Regions from separate parts of the Homo sapiens genome. Here regions 2, 3 and 4 are each linked to region 1. Evidence: promoter capture Hi-C in 16 types of primary human blood cells and fetal thymus (Javierre and others, 2016). All regions are on one chromosome and are shown on one strand. Each heading gives the region's core, a stretch centred on a gene start or on the middle of the fragment in contact. The rest is flanking DNA. Distances are from core to core; before and after follow the strand shown.

Region 1 (5,941 bases), core at 1,736-4,235:
ATTTTAAAATTCTCCCTCTTTTTTTTTTTTTTGAAACAGAGTCACACTCTCCTGCCCAGGATGTAGTACAGTGGCACAATCTCAGTTCCCTGCAATCTCCACCTCCTAGGCTCAAGCAATTCTCCTGCCTCAGCCTCCTGAGTAGCTGGAATTACAGGCACACATCATGGCACCTGGCTAATTTTTACTTTTTTTGGTAGAGACAGGGTTTCGCCATGTTGGCAAGGCTGGTCTCGAATTCGCCTGCCTTGGCTTCCCAAAGTGCTGGGATTACGGGTGTGAGCCACCGTGCCTGGCCTGATTCAAAAATTCTAATGGCCGGGGCACGGTTGCTCACGCCTGTAATCTCAGCACTTTGGGAGGCCGAGGCGGGTGGATCACGAGGTCAGGAGATCGAGACCGTCTTGGTCAACATGAAGAAACCCTGTCTCTACTAAAAATACAAAAAATAGATGGTCATGGTGGCTCTTGCCTGTAATCCCAGCTGCTCAGGAGGCTGAGGCAGGAGAGTCGTTTGAACCAGGGATTCGGGGGTTGCAATGAGCCGAGATCCTGTGGCTGCACTGCAGCCTGGGCAACAGAGCAAGACAGCAAGACTCCGTCTCAGGAAAAAACAAAACAAAACAAAAATTCTAAGGAATACAGTTACTTGTAGTATTGATGTTTGGCATAGGTCATTCCAATCTTTTTATTATGTATTATTGTTTTTGTAGGTTATTATATATTCTCTTGAATATTTATCTTTGTTTACTGTTCATAATTTTATTATGAAACCAATTTTGGATTTACATAGCGATTTATAGATAGATTTACATAGCAACTTATAGCTTTGAATGTATTTGTAGAAAAGAAAGAGTATTGAAAATAAATGTAGACATTCTACTCAGGAAACAAGGAAACTTTTTTTAATCTTTCTTTAACCTTAGAATTTAGAAATGATAATAAGATGAAACTAGGTTTGGACCTTTTTCTTTTGTTTTTTTGTTTGCAGTTTTTTTTTCTTTTTTTAATTATTTTTATTTATTTATTTATTTTTTATTATTATACTTTAAGTTCTAGGGTACATGTGCACAACGTGAAGGTTTGTTACATATGTATACATGTGTCGTGTTGGTGTGCTGCACCCATTAACTCGTCATTTACATTAGGTATATCTCTTAATGCTATCCCTCCCCCCTCCCCCCACCCCACAACAGGCCCCGGTGTGTGATGTTCCTCTTCCTGTGTCCATGTGTTCTCATTGTTCAATTCCCACCTATGAGTGAGAACATGCGGTGTTTGGTTTTTTGTCCTTGTGATAGTTTGCTGAGAATGATGGTTTCCAGCTTCATCCATGTCCCTACAAAGGACATGAACTCATCATTTTTTATGGCTGCATAGTATTTCATGGTGTATATGTGCCACATTTTCTTAATCCAGTCTATCATTGTTGGACATTTGGGTTGGTTCCAAGTCTTTGTTATTGTGAATAGTGCCACAATAAACATACGTGTGCATGTGTCTTTATAGCAACATGATTTATAATCCTTTGTGTATATACCCAGTAATGGGATGGCTGGGTCAAATGGTATTTCTAGTTCTAGATCCCTGAGGAATCGCCACCCTGACTTCCACAATGGTTGAACTAGTTTACAGTCCCACCAACAGTGTAAAAGTGTTCCTATTTCTCCACATCCTCTCCAGCACCTCTCCAGCACAGAAAGAGTATTGAAAATAAATGTAGATATTCTACTCAGGAAACAAGGAAACTTTTTATCTTTCTTTTAACTTAGAATTTAGAAATGATAATAAGATGAAACTAGGTTTGGACCTTTTTCAATAATTCTGACCACCGTTCAGTAAATTTACTGTATAAGAAAAGTAGAGGTTTGGGGTTGAATTTTGTTTTATTTTTTCCCAAAGATGTCTATCTCTGATATCTTAGGGCCTGGCAATTGTTTTTGGTCATAGGTGGGCTCTGAATAAATGTCAGTTGAACAAATATATAAAAACCAAACAAAGGAATGTTATTTCAACTGCCTTCAGAGTGTCACAACAAATATCAATGAAAAAGAAACAAAAATAAAGACTCAATTAATTCTCCAGTGAACACTTCAGTCCTCTAAAGGTACTTCCCTGTGTCCACCCAAACTGCTCTCTAACCGAACGCAAGCAAGGGGACTCCAATGCTCTCAGGCCATGAACTAATGAGGAGCTTCATGCCTGCCCTCAGTCTTTCTTCATACCCAGGGCAAAGCTGGCCCACAGACTTCCAGACATGCTTTCTTCGTTTGGGTAGAGATGGGGATCCAAGTCCCCTATGTATTTCCTCCAGAGCCACCTGTAAAACATGGGTGAAATCTACCTGCCCTCTAGCTCACCACTTCCAGGTCAAGCCCACTCATGGACCACTTTAACAGTGACAGTTGGCTTGACTGGGGAAACTGAAAAAAAGGAGCTTTCTTTAGATTTTCTGATAATCTGCATTGCCATTGCTGCTCCTTTTTCAGCAGCACAGAGAGTTGGATTATGGAGGGTTGCCTGCTTATTATGCAGCTACATCCAGGATGCTGAGTGTCTTCTGATCATGATCAAGAGCAGAGTGAAGAGATACAGGCGGAGGAGAGGATCACAGAGAGGTAGAAGTGGGAGACTGGTGGATAGGTCACTAGGCACCACTGAGTGACTACCATCACTTCTCACAGATTAGATTATTGACAAGCCAAGTATGGATTTGATTTCTACAAGGCCAAAAGCTACTCCATCTTCTAGCCAGACCACAGACTTTGTTTTAAGCCAGGACTCGTTTTCCAGCAGTTAGTGCAATTAGGGAGGTTGGGAGGATGTACACAAGAGCAGGGAGAAAATCTGGAGCCAGACAGTGAGAGAGGCAGAGGGGAAATGAAAAACCCCGTGGGAGGCTGCAGCAAAGCGAGGCAGTGTGGCTTCTCTGACAGGGAAGTCAGCAGAGGGAGAGGTTTGTCTGTCTGTACAGCAAGGGAAGTCAGACGAGAGTGCAAGAGGGTGTGGAGAGGGGTACTGATATCTGAATTATTAGGGCAGGTGTCCTGCCAAGGAATCCCTCCTTTAACAGAGCTTCAATGCTGCTCCTGTTCCTCCTCTTCGAGGGTCTCTGCTGTCCTGGGGAAAATACAGCAGGTAAGAAGAGTGCAGGTGGAAAGATACCTATGGTAGGGCACCAGAGGGCTGAGAGGAAGCTCTGGGGAGGTCCTGGGGGAAGGGAGCAGTACTCTTCTAGGATGCCCTTGGAATATGCCTTTCAGGCTAGTTCCAGGCAGAGAATTCTTGCTCTCAGTCTCAGTTTTTGTCTCTGATTTTGGAGAAAGGAAGCTGGCCCCACAGGAAAAGGGTATTGGAGTATGTACAAGCTACCTAACTGTCTCTCATCTCTGGGTTCCTTTTTTCCCTTTGGCATCACTTTTCCCATCCCTTTACATTCTCTCTACTTGTCATTTCCCTCTCTCTCAGCTCCCCAGGCTCTACAATCCTATCATCTAGCAGCAGAGGAGCAGCTGTCCTTCCGCATGCTCCAAACTTCCTCCTTTGCCAACCACAGCTGGGCACACAGTGAGGGCTCAGGATGGCTGGGTGACCTGCAGACTCATGGCTGGGACACTGTCTTGGGCACCATCCGCTTTCTGAAGCCCTGGTCCCATGGAAACTTCAGCAAGCAGGAGCTGAAAAACTTACAGTCACTGTTCCAGTTATACTTCCATAGTTTTATCCAGATAGTGCAAGCTTCTGCTGGTCAATTTCAGCTTGAATGTAAGTTCGTTGCTCTAAGCTGATAATTTGCCTGGGAACACCAACTATTTTCCAAAGTGGAAGATAGTATATAGACTCTGACCATCATTTAACCTTACTAACCTTGTTCCCCACTCTCTGACTCCCACTCCCTCCTCTGCTTCACCCTTCACCACCACCCACACTCCACCATATACACAAAAGGGCCTGCATGTACATATCTCAACATGAATATAGCTTCATGTCTGGCTCTTTGGAATGATTGTCTCCTCTGGATCTTCTGCCCCTCATTCCTGCCCTCAGACTCAGCCTTTCTCAACCCTCTTTCTGCCCTTCTTTATCCTTTGCCTGAGTGTTGACATGGACTGGCCTGTACCTAACCACTTTCACGTGAATTATTTATGACCAATCTCCTATCTTCCTGATAGCCTTCCCATCTACCACTTTCCCATTAGTTATTTCAAAGTATCTTTATTATCTTCAAATTTTCTTCCCACAAATTTTCTTCCCCTTTGCCAGTAAACTCTAGTCTCCATATGATTTCCCAGCAAATTTTTCTTCCCTTGAATCTCTTTACTGTCTAAATTGTTTGTTTTTCTTCCTTGTCATTCTTTCCATAATGATCTCTCTTCCCTGTCCACTCTCAGACCCCTTCGAGATCCAGATATTAGCTGGCTGTAGAATGAATGCCCCACAAATCTTCTTAAATATGGCATATCAAGGGTCAGATTTCCTGAGTTTCCAAGGAATTTCCTGGGAGCCATCTCCAGGAGCAGGGATCCGGGCCCAGAACATCTGTAAAGTGCTCAATCGCTACCTAGATATTAAGGAAATACTGCAAAGCCTTCTTGGTCACACCTGCCCTCGATTTCTAGCGGGGCTCATGGAAGCAGGGGAGTCAGAACTGAAACGGAAAGGTGAGCCCAACTCTCTCTCTCCCCTCTTGTTCCTAGTACTATAACTCTCATATTTGAATTTGCCTCTCATCATCATTTTGAAAGACATAGTGAGAGACTAGAGAATGAGATGTGTGGGTTCAGGACTGTTTCTTAGACAAGAGAAAGAAGTGATTACTAAATCACTCTTAGTATTATTACAAAGGCACCTGAGTCTCTGAGCTCTGGCCTGGGGTGCCCTTCAAAATTCCATTTTTTTTCTATCTTCTTCTTCCTAGTGAAGCCAGAGGCCTGGCTGTCCTGTGGCCCCAGTCCTGGCCCTGGCCGTCTGCAGCTTGTGTGCCATGTCTCAGGATTCTACCCAAAGCCCGTGTGGGTGATGTGGATGCGGGGTGAGCAGGAGCAGCGGGGCACTCAGCGAGGGGACGTCCTGCCTAATGCTGACGAGACATGGTATCTCCGAGCAACCCTGGATGTGGCGGCTGGGGAGGCAGCTGGCCTGTCCTGTCGGGTGAAACACAGCAGTCTAGGGGGCCATGATCTAATCATCCATTGGGGTGAGAAACAGCTGAGGCTCTGCTGGGAAATAATGAAAATAGCCCTGGGGCTTTTGAGTGTGGGGCTGAGGAAATGGGTAGGAATGCTAGGTACAAGAAGGGTAAAACTGGGACAATCAAAATAAAGAAGGATAGAGTATGACAGTAGTTAAATTTTAAGAAAATGGAAGTAGAGAATTAGACATACTAACAGAAAAAGGAGGAGGAACTAGTGATTTAGTGGGAGAGGGTTGGGAGGAGATCACAGACAAAGGATCAGGAGGAATTGAAATGAGGGCTTTGGAAAACCCAGATGAAAATTCTAGGAAGGTCCCACCCTTGTGAAATGGGAAATCTCAGCTTGGTGGAATAGAGTATTTTAGGGTTGGTATTCTTATTCTATCCCCAACCAGGTGGATATTCCATCTTTCTCATCCTGATCTGTTTGACTGTGATAGTTACCCTGGTCATATTGGTTGTAGTTGACTCACGGTTAAAAAAACAGAGGTGAGCTTTTTCTTGTTCTTTGTTTCTTCAGCCTGTAATCAATTCATTCCTTTTTCCTCTATCTTCTTTTTTTTTTTCTCTGCCTTTCCCCTTTATTTCCTTTCTTTGAGATTAATATCCTCCTCTTTTCCCACAGTTCAAATAAGAACATTCTTTCTCCCCACACACCCAGCCCTGTCTTTCTCATGGGAGCCAACACTCAGGACACCAAGAATTCAAGACATCAGTTCTGCTTGGCACAAGTATCGTGGATCAAAA
Region 2 (5,941 bases), core at 1,007-3,506, 140 kb before region 1:
TTAGTAGAGACGGGGTTTCACCGTGTTAGCCAGGATGGTCTCGATCTCCTGACCTCGTGATCCGCCCGCCTCGGCCTCCCAAAGTGCTGGGATTACAGGCGTGAGCCACCGCGCCCGGCCGCCTCAAGATATTTTTAAATTTTCTTCTTAATTTCTTCTTTGACCCAATAGTTATTCCAGAGCATAAGGTTTAATTTCCACATATTTGTTAATTTTCCATAATTTATTCTGTTATTGCTTTCTAGTTTTATTCTGTTGTAGCCAAAAAGATAATTGTTATAATTTCAATCTTCTTAAATTTATTAAGACTTCTTTTGTGGCCTGGCATATAATCTATTCTGGAGAATTTTCTATATGTATTTGAAAATAATATGTATTTCGTTGCTGTTGGGGGGAATGTTCTATATATTTCTGCTAGGTCTATTTGGTCTAAAGTGTAGTTCAAGTCCAGTGTTTCCTTATTATTGTTTTATGTCTGGATGGTATGGCTATTGTTGAAAGTGGGTTATTGAAATCTTCCACTACTATTGTGTTGCAGTCTGTGTCTCCTTTTAAATCTATTAATGTTTGCTTTACACATTTAGTTGCTCCAATGTTGGGTGCATATATATTTACAATTGTTATATCCTTAAGGTGAATCAATCCCTTTATCACTCTATAATGACCTTCTTTGTCTCTCTTCATAGTTTTTTTGTTACCTAAGGTCTATTTTGGCCAAAATAAGTATAGCTACTTATGCTGTCCTGTGATTTCCATTTGCATGGAATATCTTTTTTCATCCCTTTACTTTCAGTCTATAAGTGTCCTTTAAGGTGAAGCAAATCCCTTCTAGGAAACATATTGTTGGGTAGTTTTTTTTTTTTTTAATCCACTAAGCCAGTCTATATGTTTTAAATGGGAAATTGGATCTACTTACATTCAAAGTTATTATTGGTAGGTTAAGACTTATTGCTGCCATTTTGTTAATGGTTTTCTGGTTGGTTGTAATGTCTAGCAATTTGAGATTTGATGCTAAACATTATGAATTTTGTGTTGTTAAGCTCAAGATTTTGTTTTCTTATTTTAAAGTGTTGGACTTTGTTATGGCATGCTGTTAAATTATTTAAGGATCAGATTGAGCTTTACAAGGCTTGTTTTGAAGCTTTATTAGGGTAGGTGTAAAATAGTCTATTTTGAGGCTATGTCATCATATTACAAGTCATTATGATCTTGGAGTTATTATTGAATGCCCTGGCTATTCCACTAAGACTCCCCATTCTAATTATTCAGAATTCAAAAATTTTCCTACTCTGTGTGAGTTCAGGGGATTTTGATTTTACAGCTCATGAAACCTTAGTCATTCTTTGCCATGCCTTGTGAAATTTTGTAGTATGTGTGGACAGCTTTGTATTTGTCAACAGACTCAAGGGAAGTCCTATGCAGTCTTTGTGTACCTAAGTGCCCCTTTTCTAGTACATTGTTTTACAAATGACAGCCACCACAGCCTCCCCAAACTCCCTCTCTATCTCCTTAACTCAGCATGCATGTCATGCTCTCTTTGAGACTCTTTGTCCTCCAACATAGTAGTCTGGAAAGTGCATCTGTGCATTGAACTACAGCTGTCACATGGCTGATTTTGTTTGTTTCTATTCGCTAATGGATCATGGTTAATATCTGAAACCAGTTGTTTCATATTTTTTGCCATTTCCTAGTTGTTTATAGTGGGAAGTTAAGTCCAGGTCTAATTAGTTCATCATGGCTGTAAGCAGAATTCTGCATAAACTTTATAGGAGTAATTGGTGGCCAAAAAATCCTTTAGTTTTAAAAGCAACTATTTTTATCTTTTCTGTAGCTTTTAAATTCTCCTTTTTCTTAGCCATGTGATACTAAACTCTTGTGGTTTGAGTCTTTAAAGAGATATATATTTTGTCCTCTCAATTAAGGGGAAATATGACATTGGGCTTTATGATGGCTTCAGTGATTGTTGTGCTCATGCATCCAAAGAAACGTGAATTTCTCATCCCTATCCAATGATGGGTATTTATATACAGGTACCTGCTGCTTCATTGTGGATGAAAACTGGAATTCATATGTGAAAAGGAAAGCGAATGAAGAAGGTAGAAAGTGAGAGGGAGAGGGAGAGAGATGGTTTAGTGGAAGAATTCGGAATTTGTGTGACCAAACATATTGAACTTTGGTTCTTGACCTTTCATATGGGAATTTGTCAGTAGAGTGGAGGCAAAGAAAAGAAAGAGAAATCTGCTGTACTAGCTAAGACATATATTCCATTAAGAATAGAGTTTTGGTCCTTGTAAATTCATACATCTTTATATTCTCATATATTTTCATTTTGTTTTTCCTTTCTAGTTTTTCTGTAACTCTCATCAAATATCCTCAAATTTTATCTTATTTTATTTCAATAGTTTTTGGGTAATAGGTGGTTTTTGGTTACATGAATAAATTCTTTAATGGTGATTTCTGAGATTTTGGTGCACTTGTCACCTGAACAGTGTACACTGTACTCATTATGTAGTCTTTTATCTCTCAGCCTGTTCCCACCCTTCCCCTCAAGTTCCCAAAGTCCATCATATCATTCTTATGCCTTTGCATCCTCATAGCTTAGCTCCCACTTATAAGTGAGAACACACAATGTTTGGTTTTTCATTCCTGAGTTACTTCACTTAGAATAATGGTCTCCAACTCCATCAAGGTTCGTGCAAAGGCCATTATATCATTTCATTTTATGGCTGAGTAGTACTCCATGGTGCATATATACCACATTTTCTTTATCTACTTGTTGGTTGATGGGTATTTAGGTTGATTCCATGTTTTTTCAATTGAGAATTGTGCTGCTATAAACCTGTTCATGTACGTGTCTTTTTTCTATAATGACTTCTTTTCCTTTGGGCAGATACCCAGTAGTGGGATTGCTGGATTGAATGGTGTTTCTACTTTTAGTTCTTTAAGAAATCTCCATACTGTTTTCCAATAGTGGTTGTACTAATTTACATTTCCACCAGCAGTGTAAAAGTGTACCGTTTTCAACACATCCATGCTGACATCTAATTTTTTTTTATTTTAAAATTATGGCCATTCTTGCAGGAGTAAGGTGGTATCTTATTATGGTTTTAATTTGCATTTCCCTGATCATTGGTGATGTTGAGTATTTTTTCATATGTTTATTGGCTGTTTTTATATCTTCTTCTGATAATTGTCTATTCATGTCCATTGCCCACTTTTTGATGGGATTATTTGTTTTCTTTCTTGCTGATTTGTTTGCATTCCTTGTAGATTCTGGGTATTAGTCCTTTGTCAGCTGCATAATCTATGAATATTTTCTCCCACTTTGTGGGTTGTCTGTTTACTCTGCTGATTATTTCTTTTGTTGTGCAGAAGCTTTTTGGCTTAATTATATCCCTTCTATTTATTATTGTTTTTGTTGCATTTGATTTTAGCTTCTTAGTCATGAATTCTTTGCTTAAGCCGATGTCTGATTTTATCTTTTAGAGTTTTTCTGATTTTATCTTATAGAGTTTTTATGTTTTCAGGTCTTCTATTTAAGTCTTTGATCCGTCTTGAGTTGATTTTTGTATAAGGTGAGAGATGAGGATCCAATTTTATTCTTCTACATGTGGCTTGCCAGTTATCTTAGCACCATTTCTTCAATAGGATGTCCTTTCCCTACTTTGTGATTTTGTATGCTTTGTCAAAGATCAGTTGGTAGTAAGTATTTGGCTTTATTTCTGGGTTCTCTATTCTGCGCCATTGGTCTACATGCCTATTTTTATACTGATACCATGCTTTTTTGGTAACTATAGTTATAGTATTGTAGTGTAATTTGAAGTCAGGTAATGTTATGGCCCCAAATTTGTTCTTTTTGCTTAGTATTGCTTTGGCTATGCAGGCTTATTTTTAGTTCCATATGAATTTTAGGATTTTTTTTTCTAGTTCTGTGAAGAGGGGTGATGGTACTTTGATGGGAATTACATTGAATCTGTAGATTGCTTTTGGCAGTTTGGTCATTTTCACAATATTGATTCTACCCATTCATGAGCCTGGGATGTGTTACCATTTGTCTGTGTCATTTGTGATTTCTTTCAGCAGCATTTTGTAGTCTTCCTTGCAGAGATCTTTCACCTCCTTGGCTAAACATATTTCTAAGTATTTTATTTTATTTTTTGTAGCTGTCGTAAAAGGGATTGAATTTTTTAGTTGATTCTCAGCTTGGTCATTGTTGGTATATAACAGTGCTACTGATTTGTGTACATTGATTTTGTATTCTGAGACAATAGTGTATTCATTTATCAGATCTAGAAGTTTTTTGATGAGTCTTTAGTATTTTCTAGGTCTATGATCATATAATTGGCAAATAGTGACAGCTTGACTTTCTCTTTCTGTTTTGGATGCCCTTTATTTCTTTCTCTCATGTGATTGCTCTGGCTAGGACTTTGAGTGCTATGTAGAATAGAAGTGGTGAAAGTGGGCATCCTTGTCTTGTTCCAGTTCTCAAGGGGAATGCTTTCAACTTTTCCCCATTCAGTATGATGTTGGCTGTGGGCTTGTCATAGATGGCTTTTATTACTTTATGTCCCTTACATGCCAGTTTTGTCAAAGGTTTTTAATCATAAAGGCATACTGGATTTTGTCAAATGCCTTTTCTGCGTCTGTTGAGGTGATCATATGATTTTTGTTTTTAATTTTGTTTATGTGATATATCACATTTATCCTCAAATTTTTGATGAGCTGATTTTGGCTGTGCCTCTGAGTGGCTAGCAATATGTTACTTATGGAAAGTCATTTTGATATCCTTTTGATGGCAGTGGAGGGCTGCCTGGAGTGGCCACTGCCATCATGCCAGCTGCAGTGGGAAGGCATGATTGGTGGCAGCAAGAGGGGCTGCAGGAGCAGCAATGGTGGTGGTGGGTTCTCTGTGCCTGTATCCCCGTGATAGCCAACTGTGCCACCCCCATCCTTGTGCAGCCAGGTGGGACCTGCTCCCAGGCCCGGAGCCTCTGCCGCTCTGGATCCTGGCTCCGCCTCACTGTTCTCGCCCACCACTGCTGCGGGGAGGGCATGGGGAGGAGGCAGACAGTCCCTGGGGCCCGCCCCTAGGATCCTCCCATGGAGCCCTCTGCCCTGGGAGCCGCTGCCATGGGACTGGGCTGGGTTACCCACCAGCGGGGGAGCAACTTGATTGGCTACAGAGGAGCAGGCAGAGAGGAGCCCCGAGGTGGAGCTGGATCTGGAGTGATGTAGCACTCCACAGAGCCAGCAGAAGCCAGGAGCAGGCAACAGCCCTGCCCTCCTGGGCCTGGCTGCAGCTTCCCAAACTGCAGCTGTGGACCCAGGCATCTCTGCACTCTTGGAGGCCTGGGAAGGTCCCCCAGCCCTTGCAGGCTCAGAAGTGCCTGCTCCTCCTGCCTGCGTTTTCCCTGCTGTCAGTGCCTGCTCTGATCTAAGAGCAGTGTGGCGCTGAGCCGAGGCACTGTCACAGCCTGGCCAATGGTGTACATGCTCAGGCAGCCCTGACACACCAGCCGCCTGCTGCCTCATCCTCCTCTGGACTTTGGGCTCTGACAAGCATGGGAGGGAGGCCGAGGGAGAGCTGAGGACAGACTGGTGCTGGCCTTCAGGTGCCTCTTGGCATAAACAGCCTGGGTGCCATGAATGGCAGTAGGAGGCAGAAGGGGGTGCGTCCCCATTGAAGCCCCACCTTCAAGCCACGGAAGGCCTGAAGCTTGGGGGATGGTCTGCCAGTTCTACAGACCACAGGGGGAACCCATGGTGCTTTATCCTGGGCCCGCTGATGGCCACCCGTGGACCAATCAGCATGCACTTCCTTCCCTTTGAGGCCCGTAAAAACCCTGGACTCAGCCAGACTCCAGGAGAGGATGTAGAGATGATAGGGAGATGGCAGGACAGGACGATGAGCTGCAGAAAGGATCTGCCCACCCCAGGGTCT
Region 3 (5,941 bases), core at 1,607-4,106, 150 kb after region 1:
TACCCTACATCAGGCTCAGCCTCCAATGTGTTTCTGCATTATATTTGTATTGTACTTTATTACTTATTCATACAGATAAGTAATTTCAAGTTAAAAGAGAATTATTTATTTTTTATATTATCCCTTCTTGCAATGCTTTTCAATTAAAATCAGATATAGGCAAATCTTTAATCCCAGACTTACCCAAAGCAACTTTTCTGCTGATTTCAAATGCGTTAAAAGTTGTACAACAGAATATCCAGCCTGTATTTGTTTTAAAATACTTAAAAAAAATCAAGAAATATTTATTAAGCTACACTTTAAAATACCATTTATATTAGTATAAAGATGAATAAATAGATTAATGGAACAAAACAGAACATTCAGAAATAGAAACACATATGTATAGTTAATTTTCTACAAGGCTCTCAAGGCAATTTATTATAAAAATGATATTGAAAATGAAAAAAGATATAGAACATTTCCATTACCCCTAAATTTTCTCACATGCCCCATCCCATTGTGTCCCCTATACCACCATCAGCCGCAGGAAACCAATGATTTGCTTTCTATTGCCAGAATTTAGTTTGACAATAAAGAATCTTATCAAAATAAAATAACAATTTGCTTTCTAACTTCTTATCACTAAGCATACTTTTGAGGTTTATCCGTTATGTGTGTGACTTCGCAGTTCATTCTTTTTGTACCATTGTGTATATATACACAATGGTTTTATTTTCTTACACTCTCAACAGAAACGTATGACAGTTACCAGTTGCTTAACATTCTCAACAAAATGTGTTAGTCTTAATTTCATACATTAAGTAGATGCATAATAGTATCCAATTGTGGTTAGAATTAAAAGTTTTTTTTGATGACTGAAGACACTGAATATATTTTTTTGTGTGTATATTGGTCATCTACATATTTTTTAGTTGAGCGTCTTTTCAGATCTTTTGTCCATTCCTCAGTTAGAGGCATATTTTCTTCTTTCCAATATTTTAATTAGTTCCTTTGTCTTCATAATTGAAATGTAAGAGTTCTTTATGTTTTCCAGGTATATATATTTTTGTTACTTGTATATTACGCAAATATTTTCACTATATTGTAACTTGCTTTTAATTTTCTACCATGTCTTTTGAAGAGCAGAAGTTTCCTTTGGTTTTGATAAAGTCCAACTTATTGACTTTGACTTTTATAGTTCAAGTGTTTTCTGTCATACTTAATAAGTTTCTGAAAAATTCAAGCTCACTAAGGTTCTATCTAATGTTCTTTTTAATAATATTAGTTCTTACAAGCAGGATGTGATTCATCTCTAGTTAATTTTTGTAAATGGTGTGAAAAAATTTCAAGATTCTTTTCTATCCAAATGCATTATTATTGGAAAGAGTATTCTTCTACCATTAAATTGCCTTGAGGCTTTGTAGAAAATTAATTATACATATGTGTTTCTATTTCTGAGTGTTCTGTTTTGTTCCATTAATCTATTTGTTCATCTTTATACTAATACTAAAAGTATAGCTTAATAAACATTTCTTGAAATCAATGTAATGCCTTCTGGATTCTGCCCTCTTAGTCCTCATGGGAAGCCATCCATAAGGAAGAGCTATACTTTAGAACTTGCTGGAAAACCACTCTCTGAAGTACTCTGTGGGTGGGGGGCATCTATGGGAGGATGCTTCTGTTTGCAACCTTCTGGCAAAATACCTTTGATGATGGTACTGCCTGGGAAGTAGCACTACTGGGCGTCCTACTTGTTACTAGACTTCACACACACAGCATGTCCAGGCAGATGAAAGCAGCCAGAAATGGGAAGAGAACTCCGTTTTAACTTCAGTGTCCCTTCACGCCTTCTACAGAAGAGCTTAACATCATGTCTGCTGGTAAAGGAGAAACATTCCAGTAACACAATCAGGACAAGTAAAGGTAGATTTGGAGCTAAAAGGCAATTACATTCTTAATTTTCTTTCTTTTTAAAATTTTGACAGAATTTAGATTTATTCATCCCTATGAGCCCTAGAATTATGTTAATGTCAGGAGATGTTTATAAAATATACTCCACTAAAATTTTTCTGAAAATTCTAACAAGGACATTTGAAACAAGGGTTACATAGGTCAATTACAATTTCACTCAGAAAAAACAATAGCACTCTTGATTTATTCAGTAGTTGTTTTTTAATATAGCATGAGTCACAAATAAGCTAGTTTTTCAACTAGGTCAACACTGACTTTTTTTGTGTGTGATAAGAACATTTAACATGAATCCACCCCCTGATCAAAAGGTATTGGTAACTGTAATCATATATTATGCCATTCTTGCATTGCTATAAAGAAATACCTGAGATTGGGTAATTTATAAAGAAAAGTGGTTTTGTTGGCTCATGATTTGCAGAATTTACAGGAAGCATGGTGCTGGCATCCACTTGGCTTCTGGTGAAGGCTCAGGGAACTTTCAATCATGGTGGAAGGTGAAGCAGGAGCGGGCACATCACATGACCAGAACAGGAGAGAGAGAGTTGGGGGAAGGTGCTGCAAATTTTGAAATGGCAAGATCTTGTGAGAACTTACTCACTATCATAAAAATAGACCAAGTCATGCGAAGTTCACCCCCATGACCGAAACACCTCCCACCTTCAGCACTGGTGATTACAATTCAACGTAAGATTTGTGTGGGGACAAATATCCAAACTATATCAATATTTCTCCGGCTCCTCCCAAATCTATGTCCTTCTCACATTGCAAAATATATTTATGCCTTCCTAAGAGTCCTCCAAAGTTTTAACTTGTTCCAGTGTTAACTCACAAGTCCGAAGTCCAGAGTCTCATCTTTGACAAGGAAAGTCCCTTTCATTCATGAACCTATAAAATCAAAACCAAGTTATTTACTTCCAAGATACAATAGGGATACAGGTATTGGGTAAACGTTGCTATCCTAAAAGAAAGAAATTGGCCAAAAAAATAGGGGCTATAGGCCCCAAGCAAGTCCTAAAGCCAGGAGGGCAGTCATTAAATCTTAAAGCTCCAAAATAATATCCTTTGACTCCATATTCTACATCCAGGTCACACTGCTGCAAGCTCCTCAGAGAGGTGTCAGTCATGGCTCTCAAGGCTTAGGGCAGCTGTATCCCTATGGCTTTGCAGGGTTGAATACCCATGGCTGTTTCCACGGGTTGGTGTTGAGTGTTCTTGGCTTTTCCAGGTGCAGAGGGCAAGCTGACAGTGGATCTTCCTTTCTGGGGTCTGGAGGATGGCGGTCCCCTTCTCACAGCTCCACTAGGCAGTGCCCCAGTGGGAACTCTGGGGCGGGGGGCAAACCCACATTTCCCCTCTGCATTGCCATAGTAGAGGTTCCCTGTGGGGTTCCCCACCCCTGCAGCAGGCCTCTGTCTGGGCACTCAGGCTTTTCCATATGTCCTCTGAAATCTAGGCAGATGGTGCAAATTCTCATTCACTCTGAACTCTGTGTGCCTACAGGCTTAAAATCATGTGCAAATTGCCAAGGCTTACAGTGGCTTGAACTCTCCAAAGTAGCATGTTGAGCAGTACCTGGGCCCCTTTGAGCCCCAGTTGAAGCTGGAGCAGCAGGATGCAGGGAGCAGTGTCATGAAGCTGTGTGTGTGGCAGTAGGGATTCTGGGCCTTTAATGGAAGGGGCTGCCACAGAGGTCTCTGAGATGCCTTCAAGGCTTTTCCCCCATTGTCTTGACTATCAGCACTTGGCTCCTTCATAGGTATGCAAATTTCTTTTTTTTTCTTTTTTTTTTTTTTTTTTTGAGATGGAGTCTTGCTCTGTCACCCAGGCTGGAGTGCAGTGGCATGATCTCGGCTCACTGCAAGCTATGCCTCCCAGGTTCACGCCATTCTCCCGCCTCAGCCAGAGTAGCTGGGACTACAGGCGCCCACCACCGCACCCAGCTAATTTTTTTTTTGTATTTTTAGTAGAGATGGGGTTTCACCATGTTAGCCAGGACAGTCTCGATCTACTGACCTTGTGATCCGTCCACCTCAGCCTCCCAAAGTGCTGGGATTACAGGCGTGAGCCACCACGCCTGACCCACTTAAGTATGCAAATTTCTTTAGTAAAGTGGTTGTTCCACAACCTGCTTGAATTCTTCTCCCCTCAAGAGCTTTTTCTTCCTTTGCCACATTGCCAGGCTGCAGATTTCTCAAACTTTTATTCTCTACTTTCCTTTTAAATATAAGTTTCAGCTTTAAGGTATTCCTTTGTGCCCACATCTGAGTTAGGTTGTTAGAAGCAGCCAGGCCACATCTTGAATGCTTGGCTGCTTAGAAATTTCCTTCATCAGATACCCTAAATTATCATTTCAAAACTTTAACTTCCGCAGATCCCTAGGGCATGAACAGAAGGCAGCCAAGTTCTTTGCTAAGGCATATCAAAAGTGACCTTTACTTCAGTTCCCAGTATGTTCCTCATTTCCATCTGAGGCCTCCTCAGTCTGGACTTCACTGTCTATATCACACGTCAGCATTTGGGTTACAACCATTTTACCAGTCTCTAAGAAGTTCTAAACTAAACCTCAACTTCCGTCTTCTTTTGAGCCCTCAAACTCTTCCATTCTATGCCCATTACCCAGTTCCAAAGCTGCTTCTACACTTTCAGATATCTTTATTGTAATACCCCACTCCTCTGTACCAATTTCTTGTGTTATCCCATTCTTGCCTTGCTATAAAGAAATACCTGAGACTGGGTAATTTATAAAGAAAAGAGGTTTAATTGGCCCATGGTTCTGCAAACTTTACAGAAAGCATGGTGCTGGCAACTGCTTAGCTTCTGGTAAAGCCTCAAGGAGCTTTCAATCATGGCAAAAGGTAGTGGGAGCAGGCACATCACTTGGCCAGAGCAGGAGCAAGAGAGAGACAGAGTGGAAGGGAAAGTGCAACACTTTAAACTGACCATATCTTTTGAGAACTCACCTCACTATCACAAAGAAAGTACCAAGCTATGAGGGACTCATCCCCATGATCCAAACACCTCCCACCAGGTCCCACTTCCAGCATTGGGGATTTATAATTCAACATGAGATTTAGGTGGAAACAAATATTCAGACTATATCAAATCACAATGTTGTACAGTTGGTTTCTAGAATTTGTTTATCTTATATAACTGAAACTTATATTCAACAAAATGGAACTCACATTTTCTCCTCCCCTGCAGACTGGCAACCACTGTTCTACTCTCTGTTTCTATGAGTTTGACTAATACTGTATCAATTTCTATTCTGGGCATATATTCAAAATAATTAAAATTGGGATTTTAAAGTGATGTTAACAATCTCATGTTTATTATAACATTATTCACAATAGCCAAGAAAAAAATAAACTAAATGTCCATGAACAGATTAATGGATTAAGAAAATGTAGTATATACTTACAATGGAATATTATTGAATTTGATTAGTAATCTTAGGCAAGAAAGAACTTGTTGCTCTTTCTCTGTTCTTCACCATGTGAGGATATAATTAGACCCCAACTATCTGAAATCCTGAAGCAATCCCCCTTATTAGATGCTGAATCTGTGAGTAGTTCAGCTTGGACTTCCCTCCCTGCAGAACTGTGAGAAATAAATGTTTGTTGTTTAAGCCACCCAGTCTATGGTAATTTGTTATAGCAGCTGGAACTGATTAAGACAGATGGTTTTCATTTCTGTGGCATCAATGCTAATGGCTTCTCATTAGTTTCTGATTTAATTTATTTGAGACTTTTTTTTTAGCCTAGATAACTTTTTATCATTTTTTTATCTTTTCAAAAAACTAACTCTTGGTTTTACATTTTTTTCAATTGTTTTAATATTCCCTATTTCATTTATTTCTGCTTTAATCTTTATAATTATTTTAGGTATAAAGTTAGATGGTTTATTTGAGATCATTCTTTTTTAATGATGGTGTTTCTTGCTATAAACTTCTCTCTTACTGCTCTTTTTGCTGCATTCCATAAGATTTTTT
Region 4 (5,941 bases), core at 998-3,497, 130 kb after region 1:
TAGTTGGCCTGACCAGTGGTATAGCCGTAAATAGTCACCTTAATCACTCTAGATCACATTTTGCAGCACATGGTTTTTTGAGAATCTGTTGAAAGCTATGTATCTAATGCATGAAACTCTCCTCATGCACATATACAGGAAAAAAAAAACTTGCTTACAATCTGAGGAGTTTACATAGTATACAAAGTCCATCCCTAAATCCAATTCATGGGAGTACTTGTTCATGGCCAAAGTCATATAATCTATTTAAATTTGCTTTCATCATTTCACCTTTTCTTTTTTACTTTTAACAATTTGTTGTAACTTTTTTTTACCTGATTGAAAGGTTATTTATATCATCATGTCACAGAGTTTACATGTTTTATAATTTTATTATAACAGCAGGATAGATTAATAGACATCCCTGCTGCTATCTTCTAGATCCCTTTAATGGATTTAATTTCCTTTTTAATATCAAATTTCAGAAAAATTTACCGCAAGGTAGGCAGAGAAACTATCCTGGTCAAGATAGCATATTCAATTAACTAGAGTATTGCTATTTTATGTCACATTCGTTAAAAATTTAGGAGAAGGTACTGTGCAGTCTAACATTTGAGGTTTTTAAATACAGAATATGTATACATTAGGAAAACTAAATTCTATACTGTGAAAAGAAATGAAAAGTAAGCAGGAAGTTTCAGAAATAAACTACACTTAACATCTTGATCAACTTTCATGAAAAGTAGCTGATTTTTGTGTCCAACACTAATGTATAGAATATTTTCTGCAGCATGCCGACATGAATGTGATTCAAAACATTTTTTTCTATCTTACTATATGGCTCTAGTTTCCTACCATCCTGGCATATAGGTCTCTTGAATTCCTTTTTTTATTAGTAGAAACAAGAAAGAGTTAAAATTATGTTTAAAAGATATTATAATAATAAACAGTAGAATAATACTTCTACAGGAAAATAATTTGCAGTGACAAAATGGCCTTGTTTGCCATCATCATACTATAGCCATCATTAATTAAAAAGGCAGTAGAAGATAAACATAAATTTGCCATTCTGTGCACCACATTTCTTTACTTACAGCTTATAAAGTGGGATCCTATGGAGAATGGTCCTGTACCGGCCTAAGAATCAAAAAAGGTCTTATTTGAAAAGATTATCTCCTTCTTTGTCCAATGTCTACCATCAAAGTTTTTTTTATTTTCACCTGTTTCATGAAGTATTACCTGATTTCCATTCTTCAAAACACCATAGCATTGTAAGCTTTACTTATACTTCTTACTGAGCTCTGACATATTGAGCTGATTATGTACATATCTTATTTTCTCTAATGGACAATCAACAACGTGAAAGGAAGTAATTTATTATACCGATACATTAACTCCTCCTAAATGTCTTTTATATCCCTGACATTCAGGAGATAACTAATACATGTCTCTTAACTTTAATTGAATAAATGACTTCTTGGTCTAGCTAAGAAAAACATCTGAAACTACATGTGAAAGTGTAGCAATATTTATGTCCCCCATAACAGTAATTAAAAATAACAATGACAATGATAATTTATTTTGCTCATTAATCTCTTAAATGGGAGAGGGCTTATAAGATTGGCTTGTCTTAACTCCATACAATGTCAACTGAGCTGCTCAACTAGAATTGAGGGACCCACTTCCATTTGGCTCATTTACACGGCTGGCAAAATGATGCTGATTTGTAGTGGAGCTGAGTCAGGGCTATAGGTTGTGAGAGTCAGTATCTCTCCATGTGGCCCTTTTCATGGGGTTCTATAAACTTTCTCACAACATCATGACTGGTTTCAAAGACTAAACATTCCAAGAAACAGAAAGAGGAAGCTGCTAGTCTTTTAAGGCATAATACCAGCAGGTTGTCTGCTCCTGACACCCAAAAAGACAATGATGTGATGGGCATAGGAATAGCAATGGACATTCCCTTGTGAAAAAGGAGGAAATTAGACACATCACAGTCATTGGTCCATAGAAATTCTGAAATTCATCTGGACACTGTTGCCAGTCCTATTTTCTGGGAATGAATTCCATGACTCTTAGATCTAACCTGTGATGCCATTTCCCCACTTTCTGATCATCCTTTTTTATCTGCAAGACATAGCTACAATTTGCAGACATGTCATTTCTTAGTCTGATACCTCCATGGAAGAAGTTGAGGGTCCAAAGGTCTATTCATTTCTGTTTGCTCTGTAGCCTTTAGCACATGTTGATAGAATGCCTTTTTAAAACTTGGTGAGTTTCTTATGTTTCAGTTTATAAATTAATTCCATTAGATAAAAGTCACATCCATATTCATTTCTTTATTATGGGTCACTTGTGAGGTAGCAGTATTAATAACTGCTGTATGGCAATTCCCTTAAGATTCTTAAAAAGACTTATTGCTTAACTTTAAGGAGTCAGGCCCTTAGGATATTTATAAATCTTGTTGGGTATAGCCTAAAATATTTCTGAGTTCTAACAAAAAGTATTACAGCTACATTCTTAAGAGGTTTACCCTGAGGCATTGGTTTCCTGATAGCACCTTGGATTTGATTTCTTCCTTGAAGCCATTTTGTACCTTGAGAGTCTTTGTTGAGAGAGACTGTGCATGAGAAACATCTTTATTTGCAAACCCAACAAGTTTTGTTTCTTTCTGTTTCCTCTAAATTCTCAGAAACTTAAGAAACTTTAAAAAATTATGTACTTTTAAATTGACAAATAGTCATTGTTCATATTCCTTAGGTGCATAGTAATATTCTGATATAAATAATGTTATAGGGATCAGATCAAGGTAATTAGCATATCATCATCTCAAACATTTATCATTTCTTCATGTTGGGAATGTTCAACACCCTCCTTCTGGCAATTTGAATCTATACATTACTGTTAACTATAGTCATCCTACAGTAGCAAAGAACACTGTAACTTATTCCTTTATCTAGCTGTAATTTTGTATCCTTTAGCAAATCTCCACCTATCCTTCCCTTTTCTCTACTATTCCCTTCCTCTAGTATCCTGCTGTCTACTCTCTTTTCATATTTTATCATTGGTTGGAATTTTCTATAGTCTTCCTAGAAATTTACCCAGGAAGATAATGAGATTACTAAATAGTCTATTTTCCAGGCTGTAGCATGTGGTCCTGCTGCCAAACTTTAGAGCAATGGATAATAAGTATCCATGTTTTACCTAAGTATGATAACAGTTTCCTCTCTGTCCTTCAAATATTTTTCTCTCTGTGCTTCAAAGCTTTACCAAGAGTTGCCTTATGATCCTTTCACCTTTTAGTAAGAGACTCCTTAAGTCCTTATGGATTATTTATACCACCAATTGCAAAATTAATGCCAAATGTTTTAAATGTTGATTATAACAGCACCCTGCCTTTAGATACCAAATTCTGTTCTCATTATTTACTGCTGCATAATCAACTCTCTACAACTTTAGTTGCTTAAATGAGCTGTAATTATTTTGCACACAAGTCTGCAATTTTGGCAGGGCTCAGTGGGGACAGCTGGAATTTGTTCTTTGTCCCAGCAGGTTGGATGATTCAATTGGGGCTGAAGGATTTACTTTCAAGATTGCTCACTTATGTGCCTGTTTTATTCGTGTTAGCTATTGGTTGTTTGCTCAGCTGGGGCTATTGGCCAGGAGCCTTGGTTTTTTACCATATAGATTCTCCAAGGGCTGTTTGGGCTTCCTCAAAACATGGTTACTAGGGTACAAAAGTAGATGATTCAACACTCCATAAGTAGCAGCTACAAGACTTTAGAGACTAGGGTTAATAAACGGATACAGTCTTACATTTACTATAATTTATTTGTCAAAGTAGTCACTCTTCCTATCTGGATTCAGGGGAAGGAGGAAGCCACCAAAAGTTCCTGTCTGGGTTAATCACTTGGGCTTTTCTCTTGTTTTCTCATTGCTGCAGCATCTTTTTTTAAAAAAAATTAATTTAATTTAAAGTTCTGGGATCCATGTGCAGGATGTGCAGGTTTGTTACATAGGTAAACATGTGTCATGGTGGTGTGCTGCACCTATCAACTCATCGCCTAGGTATTAAGCCCAGCTGCATTAGCTATTTATCCTGATGCTCTCCCTTCCCCTGCCCCTCAACCATAGGCCCCAGTATGTGTTATTTCCCTCCCTGTGTCCATGTATTCTCATTGTTCAGCTCTGACTTATAAGTGAGAACATGCGGGACATGACTTATACGAGAGCAGTTCACGTGAGCACCTTAGAGAGACGTCCATGCATGTCTAGCATTTGACCCATTTCCAGCCCAAGTGGATGGACTCACTGTCAGAAAGAATCGATATGTGAGCTGAAATGGGGAGAAAGCTGATGGGCTTTGTGAAAACCTACATGAAGGCATTGTCACACTTTTCTCTATAACCCAAACTGTATTCATATACTGAGGAAATATTTACCAAATTCACATTATATTCCAGAAGCAAACCTGTTTCTAATGTATCTGAAAGATTCTGCCATTCTAATATTCTGTCCTCTATTCTTTATATCTTCTTCTCTTTTAGCTTTCAGAAATAGGAATGTGTAGCAGCATAAAAAAGAATACTTTTCTTCAACTTCAGAACGAAACTCTAGAGGCACTATGTAGGGAAATTCAAAGGAGATAGTTTCATTGATGTATATTTTAACAAATGTTGCCTGGAGAATCTCCACATCTCTGACTCCTTAGAGAATTTCCAAGAGGAAGTCAACTAATCCCCATGAATAATAGGGCTTTTTCTTTGGCCAATGAATTCTCATAGTGTATTATCATGGTTCCACATGCTAATTAGAAAAATTATGGACAAGTATTGGGCACAATGTGGTAATTAGCTCCCTGTGGAGATGGCGAGCTCACTTACCAACCAAGGCATTGAGACCATGGCTAATGTAAAAAGGAAAGGCCATTGATGACACCCATTGAGGCACTACCTAAAGCACCCATGGAGACAGGGCACAGGTAACATTTTTCTCTGGAGTAATGCTATTTTCTTATTTTGGTCTTGGGAGTTCCTGAAAGATGAAGAAGAACCCTGAGGCATCATGACAGGGAAGGCAATTTTGGCAAATTTCACTTAGAAACCCTTTACAGAAGTTTCTAGGAAATGCCTGAGAATGAATTAACTGGCAGGTTACAAGGCACTAGAACTCTGATTTGAAGAAATGTAAAATTTTAATTTTTATTTAGAGACCTTGATTTTTTTATTAAGAAGACCAGTGACAGTCATTTATTTGTATGTCAAATTTAAAAATTGTTGAGTTTTTCCATGAGCTAGTGATCTGTTTATCCCTAGTTATTAGTAATGAAAAATAGAAATTGTGACCAAATGACAGAAAGCAAAGCTGAATAGTGAAGAAAATAAGGATAAAAATTGAGACCAAGGCCAAGACAAAGGCAGAGACTCAGGCTAAGTCTTGATTATTTCATAGGGTGGAGGTAGTATTAGTTTTGGAAAGAAAGAATAAAAAATTTACAGTAAACATAGAATGTATAAGGAAGACAGAAGTGTTTCTCACTTAAGAGGCACATGGTAGTGCCTCTTAGGGAAACCAAGTTACTACAAAATAAACTAATTGGAATTATTATTAATTCATTAATAGACATTTATTTTTTCATCAAGTATCCATATCTCATTTATTTAAATATTGGATAAAGTTGAGGATACAAAGGGAATAAGATGAGGCATTTATCCTTGGGACTCTTAAATCTATTGGAGAGACCAATAGGAAAAAAAAATTAGATATAACATGTTGAGTATTTTGATGAAGACATACTAGACAAGCTTTAGATTACTAAGAAGGGAACAGCACACCCTCCCTAGACATATTGGAGAAAGTTCAATAATTGATGACTCAAAAAATGTGAGGAATGAGTGGGCCATACATGAAGAGGAAATGATATTGGAGGCTGAGATCGCTCTCTCTCTCTGTCTCTCTGTCT

What was found. The method cuts DNA at HindIII sites, captures the fragments that hold promoters and counts their contacts. A CHiCAGO score of 5 or more calls a contact.
Region 2: a fragment that was not itself captured here is called in contact with the fragment with the promoter of CD1E in region 1 in 1 of 17 cell types (fetal thymus); the score reaches 6.6 in fetal thymus.
Region 3: a contact is called between a fragment that was not itself captured here and the fragment with the promoter of CD1E in region 1, in 1 of 17 cell types (fetal thymus). The highest score is 5.8, in fetal thymus.
Region 4: a fragment that was not itself captured here is called in contact with the fragment with the promoter of CD1E in region 1 in 1 of 17 cell types (fetal thymus); the score reaches 9.0 in fetal thymus.

The regions. Positions count from the first base shown.
Region 1 is chr1:158,350,909-158,356,849 of GRCh38, forward strand. CD1E (CD1e molecule) reads left to right here and starts at 2,986. Exons shown (of 6, transcript NM_030893.4): 1 at 2,986-3,138; 2 at 3,469-3,765; 3 at 4,392-4,661; 4 at 4,919-5,197; 5 at 5,590-5,683; 6 at 5,820-5,941. The coding sequence starts at 3,081. The HindIII fragment of the contact is 6,143 bases long and covers 1-3,736 here.
Region 2 is chr1:158,207,460-158,213,400 of GRCh38, forward strand. No RefSeq gene overlaps it. Among named protein-coding and RNA genes, the nearest start is that of CD1D, 30 kb to the left of the region's middle. RefSeq lists an enhancer at 4,666-5,216. The HindIII fragment of the contact is 2,234 bases long and covers 1,140-3,373 here.
Region 3 is chr1:158,498,170-158,504,110 of GRCh38, forward strand. No RefSeq gene overlaps it. Among named protein-coding and RNA genes, the nearest start is that of OR10R2, 29 kb to the left of the region's middle. The HindIII fragment of the contact is 6,418 bases long and covers 1-5,941 here.
Region 4 is chr1:158,482,060-158,488,000 of GRCh38, forward strand. The region is part of intron 2 of LOC107985213 (a long non-coding RNA gene); the gene reads right to left. Among named protein-coding and RNA genes, the nearest start is that of OR10R2, 13 kb to the left of the region's middle. The HindIII fragment of the contact is 1,988 bases long and covers 1,254-3,241 here.